Regions from separate parts of the Homo sapiens genome. Here all the other regions are linked to region 5. Evidence: promoter capture Hi-C in 16 types of primary human blood cells and fetal thymus (Javierre and others, 2016). All regions are on one chromosome and are shown on one strand. The core of a region is centred on a gene start or on the middle of the fragment in contact, and the rest is flanking DNA. Distances in the headings are between cores, read along the strand shown. Region 1 has its middle 20 kb from the start of TIMM21. Region 2 has its middle 19 kb from the start of CNDP2. Region 3 holds the start of DIPK1C (divergent protein kinase domain 1C). Region 4 overlaps CNDP2 (carnosine dipeptidase 2). Region 5 holds the start of C18orf63 (chromosome 18 open reading frame 63).

Region 1 (2,700 bases), core at 138-2,637, 150 kb before region 5:
GTGGATGACAGGGATGGACAGGTGAGATGCACAGATAATAGACAGCTGGATGGATGGACAGGCCAGAAAGGAAGAAGGAAGAAACAAGGACAGAACCATGGAAAGAAGAGAGGGGAAAGCTAAGGGTAGCAGAGGCTGATGCCTCCTGTTACAGACTGAACTATGTCTCCCTCTGGCCTCCAAAACCCCTGTGATGAAACCTCCCAACCCCAGCACCTCTGAATGTAGCTGAATTTGAGGATAGGGCTTTTAAAGGGGTGATTAAGTTATAATGAGGGTGGAGGGCCCTCATCCAATTTGATTTGTCCTTATAATGAAAGGAAATCTGGGCACACAGAGACACCAGGGAGGCATTTGCACAGAGGAAGTAGCATGTGAGGACACTGCAAGAAGGTGGACATCTGCAAGCCGAGGAGAGATCTCAGGAGAAACCCACCCTGCTGACACCTTGATCTTGGACTTTCAGCCTCCAGGACTGTGGGAAAATAAACGTCTGTTGTTTAATCCCCCAAGCCAGTGGTATTCTGTTATGGCAGCTAACTTTAAGAAGTTGTAAGTGATTGTAGCAGCGTGACTTCCAGCCGTGCATTGTAAGAAACCCTGTGGCGTCGCATCCTGCCCTACCCTGTGACTGTCAGTCTTGTTCATATTTGCCAGCCACATGGTGTAAAAGGGGTCTCTTGGTGGTCTTGACTCCCATTCACTAATCATTAATGAACATTTTTATGTGGTTTACGTGTTCCTTCTTCTGGACAAATGCCTGTTCATGTCTTTTGCATGTGCTTTTATTGGTATTTTTCTGTTTTCTTTGTGTTTGTTTATTTGTTTGTTTTTGTTTTTTTGAGACCAAGTCTCACTCTGTTGCCCAGGCTGGAGGTGCAGTGGCATGATCTGGGCTCACTACAACCTCCTCCTCCCAGGCTCAAACGATTCTCCTGCCTCTGCCTCCCAAGTAGCTGGGATTACAGGTGCCCACTACCACTCCCTGATAATTTTTGTATTTTTAGTAGAGACAGGGTTTCACCATATTAGCCAGGCTGGTCTCAAACTCCTGACCTCAAGTGATCCACCTGCCTTGGCCTCCCAAAGTGTTGGAATTACAGGCATGAGCCACCATGCCTGGCCTCTATTTTCTTATTAATTTGTAAGAAGGTTTTTATATATTTGATAGTAATATTCCATTGGTTGTGTGCATAAAAGACTATCTCCAAGTTTTAAACTTGCTATTTTGCTTTATATATGATATCTTTGGATGATCAAATGTTTTTAACGATAATAAAGTCAAGATCAAGTGTATCTTTTCTTTTAAAGTAAAAAGGTACTGTGTCTTATGTAGGTACTCTTTCTCAAGTTTTTGTGTAAGGAGTCTAAACCAAGATTGAAAGGATATTCATCTCCATTGTCTATTAACCATTTTAAGTTTTGTTTTTGATATTAAGTCATTAATTCATCTGGAGTTGATTATTTTTATTTTAAGAGTATGAAGTAGTGATCCAACTTTATGTTTTCCGTATGGATGACCATGCATTCCAGCTCCATTTACTGAACTGACATCTACGTCTGTCATACACCGAAATCCCATATGTGTACAGGTCTATTTTTTGGCTCTCTTTCATTCTATTGGTTAATTTTTGCTAATACCAATACTGCACTTATCTATTTACTACATAGCTTCATAGTAGATGCTGATACCTAGTAAGAGAAAGTCACTCTCCCTACTCTTCTTATTCAGAAATACTCTAGCTAATGTTAGCTCTTTACTTTAACATAATATTTAGCATTATTTTCATCAACATCCATGGGAAGCCCTTTCGGGATTTTCTATGGTCTCTCTATTTAATTTATTAAAAAATTGGGGAAGTAATATGTCTATAGGAATGATAATCAAATTTTCTAAAAATTATCGGCATTCCGAGGCTTGTGGCCACATCACCCCCGTCTCTGCCTCCATCTTTACATCATAATCTCCTCTGCACTTGTCTTCTCTTCTGTGTCTGTCTTACAAAAATACATGCCCTTGAATTTAGGGCCCACCCCTATAACCCAGGACTAATGCATCCTCTCAAAATCCTTAACTTAAGCACATATTTTACCATAGAAGATAATATCCGCAGGTTCCCAGATTGAAATGTGAACCCACCTTGTGGGAGACCACCCCTCAGGAGGCCACCAAAAGCATCTGCTACAGCAGTGTGTGGCCCGAGGTCATCTTACCATACACGCCTGGAACCAGGGATGTCTGATTTTCAAATCCTGAGTGTTTACACATCACCTAATGTTGCCTTTCATGTTTTTTTTGTTTTTTTACCTGCCTACATTTCAGTTTCCCCATCTCTTAAATGAGGACAATAATACCTACTTCTTAGGGATTTTGTAAGGACCATATGAGGCCATAGGGAAGGGGCTTCAGCAGTAGCTGGCACATGGTTACCCCGCAACTGTCGGTATGTTTCTTGCCTTCCTTTTACATTGTACATAGAGAAGGCATCATTTTAATTCCTGTATCTCCAGTTACTACAGTATTTGGATGTTAATAAGTTCTCAGAAAAAAAAAAATGTGTTAAATCTAAACCTTATAAGTACCTATAGTTCTAATACCCAAGCAATGCATTATTCAAAAAGTGACTGAGAAAGCTACCAAATTCCTGGAGTGCCAGCCATGAGAGATAGGAGGCTGCAAAAATTACGGATGTGTCCCGT
Region 2 (2,700 bases), core at 144-2,643, 160 kb after region 5:
TCACAGTGTGGGGGCCTGAATAGTGACCCCCTCCTCCTCAAAGATGCTTATGTCCTAATATCTGTAACCTGTGAATATGTTACCTTATATGGCAAAGGAGTCTTTGCAGAGGTGATTAAGTGAAGGATCTTGAGATGGGAGACTATCCTGGATCATCTGGGTGGACCCAATACTGTAATCAGAAGATCCCTTAGAATAAAGGGAGGCCAAAAGGTCAAAGTCAGAAAAAGTAGGTGTGAGGATGCAGCCAGGGGTTGGGTGATGCACTTTGAAGATGGAAGGAGGGGCCACAGGCCCAGGAATCGCGGTGGCCTTCAGAAGCCGGAAGAAGCAAGGACATGGATCCTCCCCTGAAGCCTCAGGAAAGAACCAGCCCTGCCAATACCTGGATTTTAGGCTTCTGACCTGAAGATCTGTAAGAGAATGAATTCCTCCTGTTTTCAGTCACTAAGCTTATGTTAATTTGTTACAGTAGCTACAGGAAGCTAATACGGTATACACAACTTTTATTTGCCTTTTATTTGCCCAGAGGAAGGAAAGTTCTCCAGGCACTTTCAACATCTAGAGAGCATAATAATATACAGTTATGAGGCAAACACAGGTGCTAAATGCAAATGGATTTTCCAGTATCTCCTGTGGATTTTCAGCAGACTTAAAGGCGAGACTGGAACACTTCCAACATTCAGCTGAAATCCCACTGTGGGCTAATTTAAGGATGAGTTCCTCATGCCCATAAAGCCAAGCTCTGATTCATTTGTTTTTCTTTTCAGAAGCACAGTGAAAAGTGACACCTGAATTGTGAGTGACAACAACTGTTCACAGCTTGAAACCCTGAATAATAATCCATGACCAGGTTACCTGCCTGAATTCATGACTTAATTTTTCTTGCCCATGTTCATCCAATAGGAAACATGTGTTTTAAAGAGAAATAAAACTTTATTCAGGGTTCCCAGCAGCATTTAACAACTGAGCCCGTCTGTTCAGTAAAATCTTTAATTGGGAACTTCTCTTCAGTTGTACTGAGGGAATTTTTAAGCCACCAAATTGCAAGATAAGTTTATGTTAATATTTCTGCCGTAGTTCAGGCTGCTCTAAAAGAATGCCACAAACTAGGTGGCTTAAACAACAAACATTAATTTCTGAAAGTTCTGGGGACTGGAAGTCTGAGATCAGGGTGCCAGCGTGGCCTGGCTCTGGTGGGGACTCTTTTCCTGTTTTATGGATGGCCGCCTTCTTGTTGTATCTTCACCTGGTGAAGAGAGAGCGCTCTGATCTCTTCATCCCCTTATAGGGACACTAATTCCCTTCCTAAGAGCTCCACCTTCACAACCTAAGTACCTCCCAAAGATTCCACCTCCAAATACCATCACATTGGGGATTTAGGCTTCGCCGTATGAATTTTGGGAGGATACATACGTTCAGACTCTAGCAGTTACCCATATGTTTCCAGTCTTAGCCGACAGTGACTAAGAAGTAATGACACAGTTCCTCTCTACGCCCACGTTCTAGCCACGCAGCACTCCAGTCGGCTTAACATTATACATTTGCCCATCCCATAAGTCCCCCATAGTTCTGTGTCTCCAATGGGGTGGCTCAGGGCCTCACACTGACCCCAGGTCTCCTGGCCCTCCTGTCAGCTCCAGCACCTGAGGGCACCACCATCCCCTCTAGGCTGAGTTGGGTGCTCCCTATGCTTACAGCCCTGCAACATCAGAGTGCTGCTGGCCTGGGATGCAAGTAGGAGAGGGGCTGCCTCCCTAGCCTGGGGCCACACTGCATCCCAGAGCAGCGCCCTTGTGGTCAAGCGAATTCTGCCTGGGCCTGGTCCTCACACCCCTGGCCACAGGCCCCCAGCCCTGCCTGCAGCCTCAGCCCTTCCTGCTCCTGCCCCCACCTGCTCCTGCCCCCACCCACTCCTCCCCCCACCACTTCTGCCCCCGCCTGCTCCTGCCCCTTGACCCAACTCCCAACTCCAAGGCCTCACTGGACCCGCAGTTCTAAAAGAAGGAAAACCTTCCTTACACATCTCATAAACACACCGCAAAGGAGGAGTGATGGGGAGAAGAAACCCCACCGCCCATGCCCCAGCTGCCTCCCTGGCTCCTTCATGGGCCCAGAACCCCATGACCCATTACCCTGAGTGCACAGAAAGTTCCCTAGCTTCTTCCCAGACATCCCGTCCTAATGGCCCACCATGCTCCAGAAAGCAGGCCTGGATTTCAGACCTACCGGGCTTGGAGACACCCCAGCGGCTTGAGCATCTTGACACTCTTGCTGCACCACAGACCAGTCACCTAGACTTTCTGGGGCACTGGGGATATGGCTGTACTCTTTAAAGCTTCCCAAGAGATTGTCCATGGACCGAGATAATTCTCGAAGGTTATCAATATCCTAAGCTAAAAGCGGTAGTGGAACTGCTGACGCAGATGGTTTCTTAAATTTTATTTTGTCAAATTAAGTACAACGAAGAGCTAAACGGTTTTTGGAAATAGATATCATGACTTGAATCAGGAGATGGCAGAAGCCTCCAGAATGGGGCCCATGTGATATCCTGGGCAGTGATTTGCTGCAGCAGCTGGGACCCAGGTGCCTTAGCTGTCTTTGCCTGATGGTTCTGAGCAGCTCCACCCTCCTTAATTAGCCCAAGGCTGGAATCAGGCTTGTGCAACATGAAGGTTTTGCAATTTAGGGATTGCCCTA
Region 3 (2,700 bases), core at 200-2,699, 140 kb after region 5:
CGATGACACGCGTCAGAATCAATTAGGAGCATAACTTGTCTTAGCTAGTATACCTGGCTCATTTTTTTAAAAAACAATTTCAATCTCACTTAAAAAATCATTTACTTTAAAAACTTTGTGGTCCCACATTTTGAAAATCTACAATCTCAAAAGGCCCACCCATATGTAAGCAACTGGACTGAAAACTTCCCATGTGTTTCTTGAAGATTTTTTAGAAAATAGATCTCTTTTCAAACCAAATGCTTAGATGGTCACTATTTTAGGAAATGAATAATCGCTTAAGAAGTCATGTAAGAGTAGCTGCTACTATCTTCCCCTTTCTGGGATTTAGGGGACTCCCACCTTTACTGAAGTCTCCTTTGCGCCTGAAAGAACGGCTAGCCAAGTTTCCAATCAACTAAAGGTGGGCGTTTCATTCATATGATGTGAGCCCAGCGTACGCAGCAGTCTGCAAAATGCGAAATGTTTCTTTCTCTCCCTAATTCTCTGGCTCAGCTGAGGAGCTGCTGGGTGCGAGCTTTCGGGCCCTCCCAGGTTAGGAGGCGCCTGTCGAGGACCGGGACCCGGGATCCTCCCGGTCCCAGCCGCCTCCGCAGCGCTCTCTGCTCGCCCGAGCGCACACTGCGTCGGTTCCCACAGACCGCGACCGCGGAGAGCCTGGGCTCTGGAGCGCAGGGGGGCCGGGGTCAGACCAGCCCTCCGCATGGGCTCGGTGAGATAGGGGGTGACCTGGCAGCTCAGGGTGGAATCACAGAACGCGGGCTGGGCTGGAGCGCTGCGGACCCGAGAGACAGAGGCGTGGCACCCCGGATCCCGAACCCCGCACTGGCTTGCGCCCCGAGCCCGGCGGCCTGACACCGGACGCGGCACCTCCCTGGACACTCGGATCAGACCCGCAAACTTTCTTCCGGAGCTCGGGCTCAGGGGTGGCGAGGGTAGGACGGAGAGGCTGTCTGGGGACAAAGGGCGAATTCTGGCGAAAAGGGGAGAGACACCCCCAGCGCGCCCACAGAGCACTGCCGGCTGCGTCCCCATTCGGGGGACCGGGGCGTGCGCCTCTGGCACTCCACGCAGGTGTCGGGAACCCATGTCCCCGGCGGGTGCCACCGCCACCCAAGTCCCCGGGAAGGCTGGGGACCGGGAGCGGGTGTGATCCCCCCTCCCCGGACGCGCGGCGCGGGGCAGAGCGGCGGCGGGACCTACCAGCGCGGCCAGGATGCGCCGGCTCTTCTCGTCGGTGCAGCGCTCGGAGAGGACACCCGGGTGCGCGCGGAGCAGCAGCGCGGCCGCCAGCACCCAGCCCGCGGTCCACGCGGCGAAGGCGAGGAGCGTGCCCCGCCCGCAGCGCCCGCGCCTCCTGCACCACCCGGCAGGGCCCCGCGCGCCCGCCGCCCGCGCCATGGCCAGCCCTGCCCGCGCCCGGGCCCCACCGCCGCCCGCGCCCCGAGTTCCGCACTCGCGTAGCTGCTCCGCGGCTCAGGCCCGCTCGGCGGGGAGGGGGAACGGGGGAGGGGCCGCGCGAGGGTTGGGGCAGGCCCCGCGCCTGGGGCGGAGGTGCGGGGAGGGCGTCCAGCAGCAGCAACACCCCGCGCGCCCCGAGCACCCACTGGGGGTCCACTCGCCGCATCCCCTGCTCCACCCTCTCTACTTTTCTTTTTGCACTTTTTTCCCCCAAGAAGACCAGCTCCCCACTTAAACGAAATCCGGGTAGATTCAATCGCCTCTCTCTTTGGGGACTGATTCCTCAAGACTACATATCTTTAATTGTCACATTGCCCTCCCCCACCAACTTCTCTGAGAGGCCAGGTGCCCTTGCCCCCAGCGCTCTGTAGAGCGCACCCTCGCCCCAGGGGGCTGCAGCGTTGTCCCCCCCCGTTTACCTCTCCACTAGAACCGCCCCCCTCTGAGTCTCACCCCAACTTGGGTTTTCTCCGGGCCCTCCCGGGAGTGAGATCCGGAGCATGCAGAGAGTCGGGGGTCGAGGACAGTCAGTAGGTTCTGGGACGACCCAGCCCTCCCCTTCCCACGGGCACCCCTGAATCAAACCCCCCGCCGTCTCCCAGGCTGCACAAACTCTCGGGCGTCCTTCTCAGGGCTGCAAAGATCTGCTCTCTGGAAACATCTCCGTTACCCCGGGGAGGAGAACACGTCCACCACGTGTGTCTAAGTCTATATTTATAGATTCGCAGTATCATCTGGGAGAGCAGGCATCCGTGTTCCCATCCCAATTGTTCTGTAAAGCAGGCTGGCCCTGGGCCCACAGGGCGTCCCTGGTTCTCACCAGCATCCCCCACCCCACCCAGGGATGCTTCTCACTCCCTGAACGCCTTTCCCCAGGATAGGGGGAGGCGGCGCCACCCCAGGGGAACTGTCACAGCTGAGGGGCTGTGAAAGCCGCCACGCCCGGGGCTCCTGCATTCACTGAACAAAAGCTTATTCAGTGCCCAGTACGTGCCAGCCCATCCCGGATCGCTCTCCCGCCTGCCCTGCGCCTGAATTTCACATGACCCGTTCCCGAGTTTAGAGATAATAGAAACATGCCCTGATCACTGCGTGCTGTGATTGTCCCACAGGAGCTGGCTTCTTGCCCTTGTCTCTTCTGCAACTCGCTGCTTTAACTTTGTTTTATGGCTGGCTCGGTGGTAGGAGTCCCCAGGAATGACCAAACATCAGATGAACAAACCCTGAGCCCCAAGAAGC
Region 4 (2,700 bases), core at 35-2,534, 190 kb after region 5:
CAGCCACAGTGCCGCTGGGACAAATGAGGGGCGTCAGGCCACACGCCACACACGCAGCCACACTGCCGCTGGGACAAATGAGGGGCGTCAGGCCATACACTGCACACGCAGCCACACTGCCACTGGGACAAATGAGGGGCGTCAGGCCACACGCCACACACGCAGCCACAGTGCCGCTGGGACAAATGATGGGCGTCAGGCCATACACTGCACACGCAGCCACACTGCCACTGGGACAAATGAGGGGCGTCAGGCCATACACTGCACACGCAGCCACACTGCCGCTGGGACAAATGAGGGGCGTCAGGCCACACGCAGCACACTAGCAGCCTTCAGGTTGCAGGGGTTACTTAAATTACTGGGAACACAAATCCTGGATCCCATAAGAATCCCAGCCACCTGCCCAGTTTCGTAAAGTGCTTGTACACTTAGAGCTGGAGGCCCTGCAGTTTGGAAGGGACACTTTTCTCAGCCTATCACCAGCACTGTCCTGATCCAGTTGTCATTTCAGTGACTGCTCATTTTACCTCTTAATTGCAAACTGTTAATTTAACTTCATTATCAATTTAGTTTTTGCGTTGTGTCTGTTAATACCTATTTTCATGAACAGTATTTTCTAGCAACTAGACTAATATATATGTATGTCATGTTTTAGTATGAACAGTCTCTTCCTCCTACAGCTAAAAGCATCTCCTGCCACTTGCTTGTGACACTTTGTGATGATCATGGGGTATTTTCCTATTGGAATATAGGCACTGGTAGAGGAGCTACATGGCCACAGGAGTTTTGCACAGCCTGAGTAGGCCATAGTCTAAAGTAAAAGGTGGAGACCACTGACCTGATGTGAAAACTGGAAAAGACCTAAGATTGATTTGCCTCCATTTAGATGCAGGGGTGGGCTGGGATGCCTGTCCCATTCTCCATTCCTATGGGATTGTGGAATATTGGTAGTGCTTCTGGGACAAAGCTCAGAAGGCGTACCTGCTATCACTAACTTTTTAGAATGGCTAAATGTGAATTTAGGTATAAAGATTTTTTTATATATATCTTGGTTTATGGCATTTTCCATGCATAATTGTAATCAATGTACAGAATTTCAAAAATACCTCTTCTGATTTAAGATTATAGTTTATTTTAACCATCATTTCAGAAAATAATAAACTAAGTTGCATCCCGAACTCAGCCTGCGTGTTTTGTTATATAAAAGTCAAAGAAAAACCAGCCTTTAAGAATTTACCAAATCCAGCCAGGTGCAGTGGCTCATGCTTGTAATTCTAGCACTTTGGAAAGCCGAGGTGGGTGGTTTGCCTGAACTCAGGAATTCGAGACCACCGTGCGGGCAACAGTGAAACCCTGTCTCTACTAAAATACAAAAAATTAACCAGGCATGGTGGCCGGCACCTGTAATCCCAGCTACTTGGGCGGTTGAGACCTAAGAATCGCTTGAGCCTGGGAGGCAGAGGTTGCAATGAGCTGGGATCACGCCACTGCGCTCCAGCCTGGGTGACAGAGCAAGATTCTGTCTCAAAAAAAAAAAAAAAAAATTTACCAAACTGCCTGCAATTGGCAAACATGTACATGTGCTCTGGAGTACAAGAAAGTAAGAAAGTAAATCTTAATTAGTGACTCCATTGAACAGTGTGCTCTTAAACTCTACAATAGAGGTTGATTGATAAGGACAGATAAGGAAGCTCAAGGTCTTTTAATAATCTCCACCTTAAGCACTGAATTTCTTAAACAAAGGCTGTCCTTGGTTCCTTTCCTCTCCATGCTCAGCTCCCTGATGGCTCGGAGATCCCGCTCCCTCCTATTCTGCTCGGCAGGCTGGGCTCCGACCCACAGAAGAAGACCGTGTGCATTTACGGGCACCTGGATGTGCAGCCTGCAGCCCTGGAGGACGGCTGGGACAGCGAGCCCTTCACCCTGGTGGAGCGAGACGGTGAGCGCCGCGCGCCTATGCGTGCCCAGAGGAAAGGCACTGACTTTTGGAAAGTCATTGCTAGTCCGTTTTTCTGTTTCCAGTACAGACTGTTTTTATTTTATTTTATTTATTTTATTACTTTTTAAAAATCTTTTTTTGAGACAGAGTCTCACTCTGTAGCTCAGGCTGGAGGGCAATGGCAAGATCTCAATTCACTGCAACCTCCGCCTCCCGGGGTTCAAGCGATTCTCCTGCCTCAGCCTCCCCAGTAGCTGGGATTACGGGCGCCCATCACCACGCCTGGCTAGTTTTTTTATTTTTAGTAGAGACGGGGTTTCACCATGCTGGCCAGGCTGGTCTTGATCTCCTGACCTCAAGTGATCCCCCCCACCTCAGCCTCCCAAAGTGCTGGGATTACAGGCTTGAGCCACCACGCCGGGCACAGACTGTTTTTAACGTAAGCTAGAAATGGAGGTTTCTTACAGGTGCCTCTGTTGCTGAACTTCCAGAAAGCCTGCCTTTTCCTGTGCAAATGAGCCCCCCGTGGCTGGCGTCTGCCAGGCTTCCTCTACTGCTGATGCTTTTTCTCAGAATGCACATTTGGAATCCAGGCAGGGCCTTCCTGAAAAGCCTGTCCCCTTGTCCCCCTCCCCGGCCCTTACCAACAGCTGCTTCTGCGGTATATGTTAGTGGCCTCCTTCACCCTGGCTGCCCCAGTGGGGGTGGCGATGTCCCTGTTATTCACCAAGTGCTTCCGTGGGCCTGGCACCTGCAGGCCT
Region 5 (2,700 bases), core at 182-2,681:
CCTAAATGCACTCTCATGGAGATCCAATCTGGCCTCAGGTTTTAAATAGCATCTATTATATGCAGATCTTTCCCCAGAACTCTTATTGTTCCTCTTCATTTCTCAATGTCAACAAGTCCAAAACTGACATGAACCCTCCTGATCTTCAGCCCCAAACTTGCTCCTCTTAGTCTTCCCCTTTGTAATTAATGGCAACCCAATCCTTCTGAATTCTTAGTATAAAAACCTTGGAGTGATGCTTGATTCCTCTCCCTCTCTCTCAGATCCCACATCAATCCATATCCAAATCCTATTAAATCTAATTTCAAAATATATCCAGAATCCAATCCCATCCCATCCCATTCCCTCCACTGCCACTGCTCTGATCCAAGCCACCTCTCTCCTTATTGCCATTGCCTCCTAACTGCTTTTCTTCCTTTCCCTGTCCCCTTCAGTCCATTCCAGCACAGCAGGCTGGATGCACCTTTAATACTTCCATGGCTTATCGGGCCTAACCCTGTCTGGCTCTCTGTAACTCCTCCTGCCTCACGGAGCCACTTCTTTCCTGCTCTACTGCAGCCAGCTGGCGTCCCTCCTGCCCTGGCCTTTTGTAGGATTCCCTCTCTCGTAACAAACATTCTCCCCCGAGACATGCACGAGGCTGCCCACTCTCACCGCCTTCATGTCTTTCTCAAACGTCCCGTTCTCCACGAGGCCTTCCTGACCACGCTATTAAACCTAACGACTTCTCCTCGGCACTCCCCGCCTCCCTACCCTACTTAATTTTTCTCCAATGCACCTATCACCATCTGCCACACTAAGATTTTGCACATTTATCTTGCGTATCTGTTTTCCCCCAACTACCAAGTAAAATGTGCATCCCACAAGGACCGGGAATGCTGTTTGCTTAGTGCTCTATCAGCAGACCTTAGAAACGCATCTGCACACAGTAGGCGCTTCGTGGATTTACTCCCACGAGCTTGCACCACGCTTCCCCTCCACACCAGGCATGAAGATGTTCCAGTCATGGAGATTCCCACCACTAAAGGAACTGCAGAAGCTGTAAATTCGGGCATGAGAATCTGAGGAGAAACGTGCCGAGGCAAGAGGCTGGGTAGCCCCTGTGCAGCACGCAGTTAGCCGGGGCTTCAGCGCCGGAGCTCCCCGTTGGACGTGTTGCGCTGACCCAGCTTTCCCGCCTTCGAGGGCGGCCAGAACCTTGTGTCCCGGCCCCACCCACACCAGCTCAGGCTGAGAGAATCTCACAGGGCTTCACTGGGTCATCCGTGACCAGCTTTGGTCGGTTCCTGCCTTGGCGGGAAAAGTTGACCTACATTGCGTGCCAGGAGCGCAAGGCTTGCAGGGCATGCTGGGAGAGCGCAGGGAACGCTGGGAGAGCGCGGGAAATACTGGGATTGGCTCCCGAGGGCTGTGAGGAGGGCACGAGGGGACACTCCGATGAAGGCAGGGCACGCGGGGCGAGCCGGGAGCGTCTCCTGAGGGCAGCGAGGAGGGAGCTGAGGCACGCGGGCTCTCAATCGACGCCCCACAGAGACCAAGAGGCCTGGCCTTGGGGGGCAGCTGCTTGAAGGAGGCAGAGCGGAAGCGAGGGAGACTGCTGGAGGCCCTGCCGCCCACCCGCCCTTTCCTCCCCCTGAGGAGACGCCTGACGCATCTGCAGTGCAGGAGGCCGTGGGCGTTAGAAGTGTTGCTTTTCCAGTTTGTAAGACCATTTTCCTGATTCTCTTCCCCACGGTTGCGGAGGAGCAGGTCAGGGCCGCCATGAGGGCAGGATCCCGGTGCCGGCGCCGGCACCCTGAGGACGTTGGTTTGGGTCAGGAAAAAAATGTATTCATCTGCAAAGACCCATGAGTCCCAATTTTTCGGGCATTTCATTATATCGGAAATTTATAGAATCACCTTTTAAAATGGATTTAGCTGAACAAAGACCTTAGATTCGTTTCCACTCACGTCCATTACTGTTCTCACAGAAGCCAGGCCGGAAGAGGGGTGGGCGCTCGCCTGGGGGCAGCGGCAAGCCGGGTCTGGGGCCGCCCTGAACCCCGCGCCCCGGGAGGATTTTTAGGAAGGGTCCCTCGTAGCGGCGGTCCCGAGGCTTAGCGCACAGCACTGCAGGAGCTGGGCGCTCCCAGAGTTTTGGTCCTTTGGGGTTCTCTGAGTCCTCCCTCACGTGTAGAATTGCGTAGGTGCCTGTTGCCTGCTCCTAGCACTTGTTCCTTGCCCTGCTGGGGATTGGGAATAAAGATGAAATCCTGGGACAGAAACGTAGTGGAGCGACTCCCTGGACAGGATGTTAATAGCGCATCCGTAGATCATAATAAGGCTTGGCCCACGTTTTGAGCTTCACAATATAGTTCTACAGCCTAGCCAAAGAAAACAACATTCTTTTTGAATCTGCAAGTTTTGCCAACTAGGAACTCACAAAATTAAACAATAGTAATAATTCTAATAAATTCATGCTTATCCCTGAACAGATCACTCTTGTTTACATACAGTGTTGCAATCCGTGAGTATTTGAAGATTGGCAAAACGGGAGGACTTGCACCCAGGAATTTTTTGGTGACCTGGAATTTACATTCCTACTGTATTACATTCCTGCTGGCATTGCCAGCATTCCTCAGATGACACCACAAACTCATTTCAGTACTGTGATCAGAAGGCTGGTCACACTGCACATTCCCGGGCCAGTATATTATTCTT

What was found. Contacts are between HindIII fragments. The CHiCAGO score rates a contact against its expected background, and 5 or more counts as called.
Region 1: a fragment that was not itself captured here is called in contact with the fragment with the promoter of C18orf63 in region 5 in 1 of 17 cell types (M2 macrophages); the score reaches 5.2 in M2 macrophages.
Region 2: a fragment that was not itself captured here is called in contact with the fragment with the promoter of C18orf63 in region 5 in 6 of 17 cell types (non-activated CD4 T cells, naive CD4 T cells, total CD8 T cells and 3 more); the score reaches 6.1 in non-activated CD4 T cells.
Region 3: a contact is called between the fragment with the promoter of DIPK1C here and the fragment with the promoter of C18orf63 in region 5, in 8 of 17 cell types (total CD4 T cells, naive CD4 T cells, non-activated CD4 T cells and 5 more). The highest score is 8.6, in total CD4 T cells.
Region 4: a contact is called between a fragment that was not itself captured here and the fragment with the promoter of C18orf63 in region 5, in 3 of 17 cell types (naive CD8 T cells, naive CD4 T cells and total CD8 T cells). The highest score is 6.7, in naive CD8 T cells.

What each region holds. Positions count from the first base shown.
Region 1 is chr18:74,166,893-74,169,592 of GRCh38, forward strand. No RefSeq gene overlaps it. Among named protein-coding and RNA genes, the nearest start is that of TIMM21, 20 kb to the left of the region's middle. The HindIII fragment of the contact is 4,386 bases long and covers 1-2,700 here.
Region 2 is chr18:74,476,425-74,479,124 of GRCh38, forward strand. No RefSeq gene overlaps it. Among named protein-coding and RNA genes, the nearest start is that of CNDP2, 19 kb to the right of the region's middle. The HindIII fragment of the contact is 1,886 bases long and covers 451-2,336 here.
Region 3 is chr18:74,455,859-74,458,558 of GRCh38, forward strand. DIPK1C (divergent protein kinase domain 1C) reads right to left here and starts at 1,450. Exons shown (of 4, transcript NM_001044369.3): 1 at 1,204-1,450. The coding sequence starts at 1,401. The HindIII fragment of the contact is 3,923 bases long and covers 1-2,430 here.
Region 4 is chr18:74,504,073-74,506,772 of GRCh38, forward strand. CNDP2 (carnosine dipeptidase 2) reads left to right here. Exons shown (of 12, transcript NM_018235.3): 4 at 1,777-1,939. Among named protein-coding and RNA genes, the nearest start is that of CNDP2, 9.1 kb to the left of the region's middle. The HindIII fragment of the contact is 5,160 bases long and covers 1-2,700 here.
Region 5 is chr18:74,314,408-74,317,107 of GRCh38, forward strand. C18orf63 (chromosome 18 open reading frame 63) reads left to right here and starts at 1,432. Exons shown (of 14, transcript NM_001174123.2): 1 at 1,432-1,702. RefSeq lists an enhancer at 1,640-1,809. The HindIII fragment of the contact is 4,843 bases long and covers 1-2,700 here.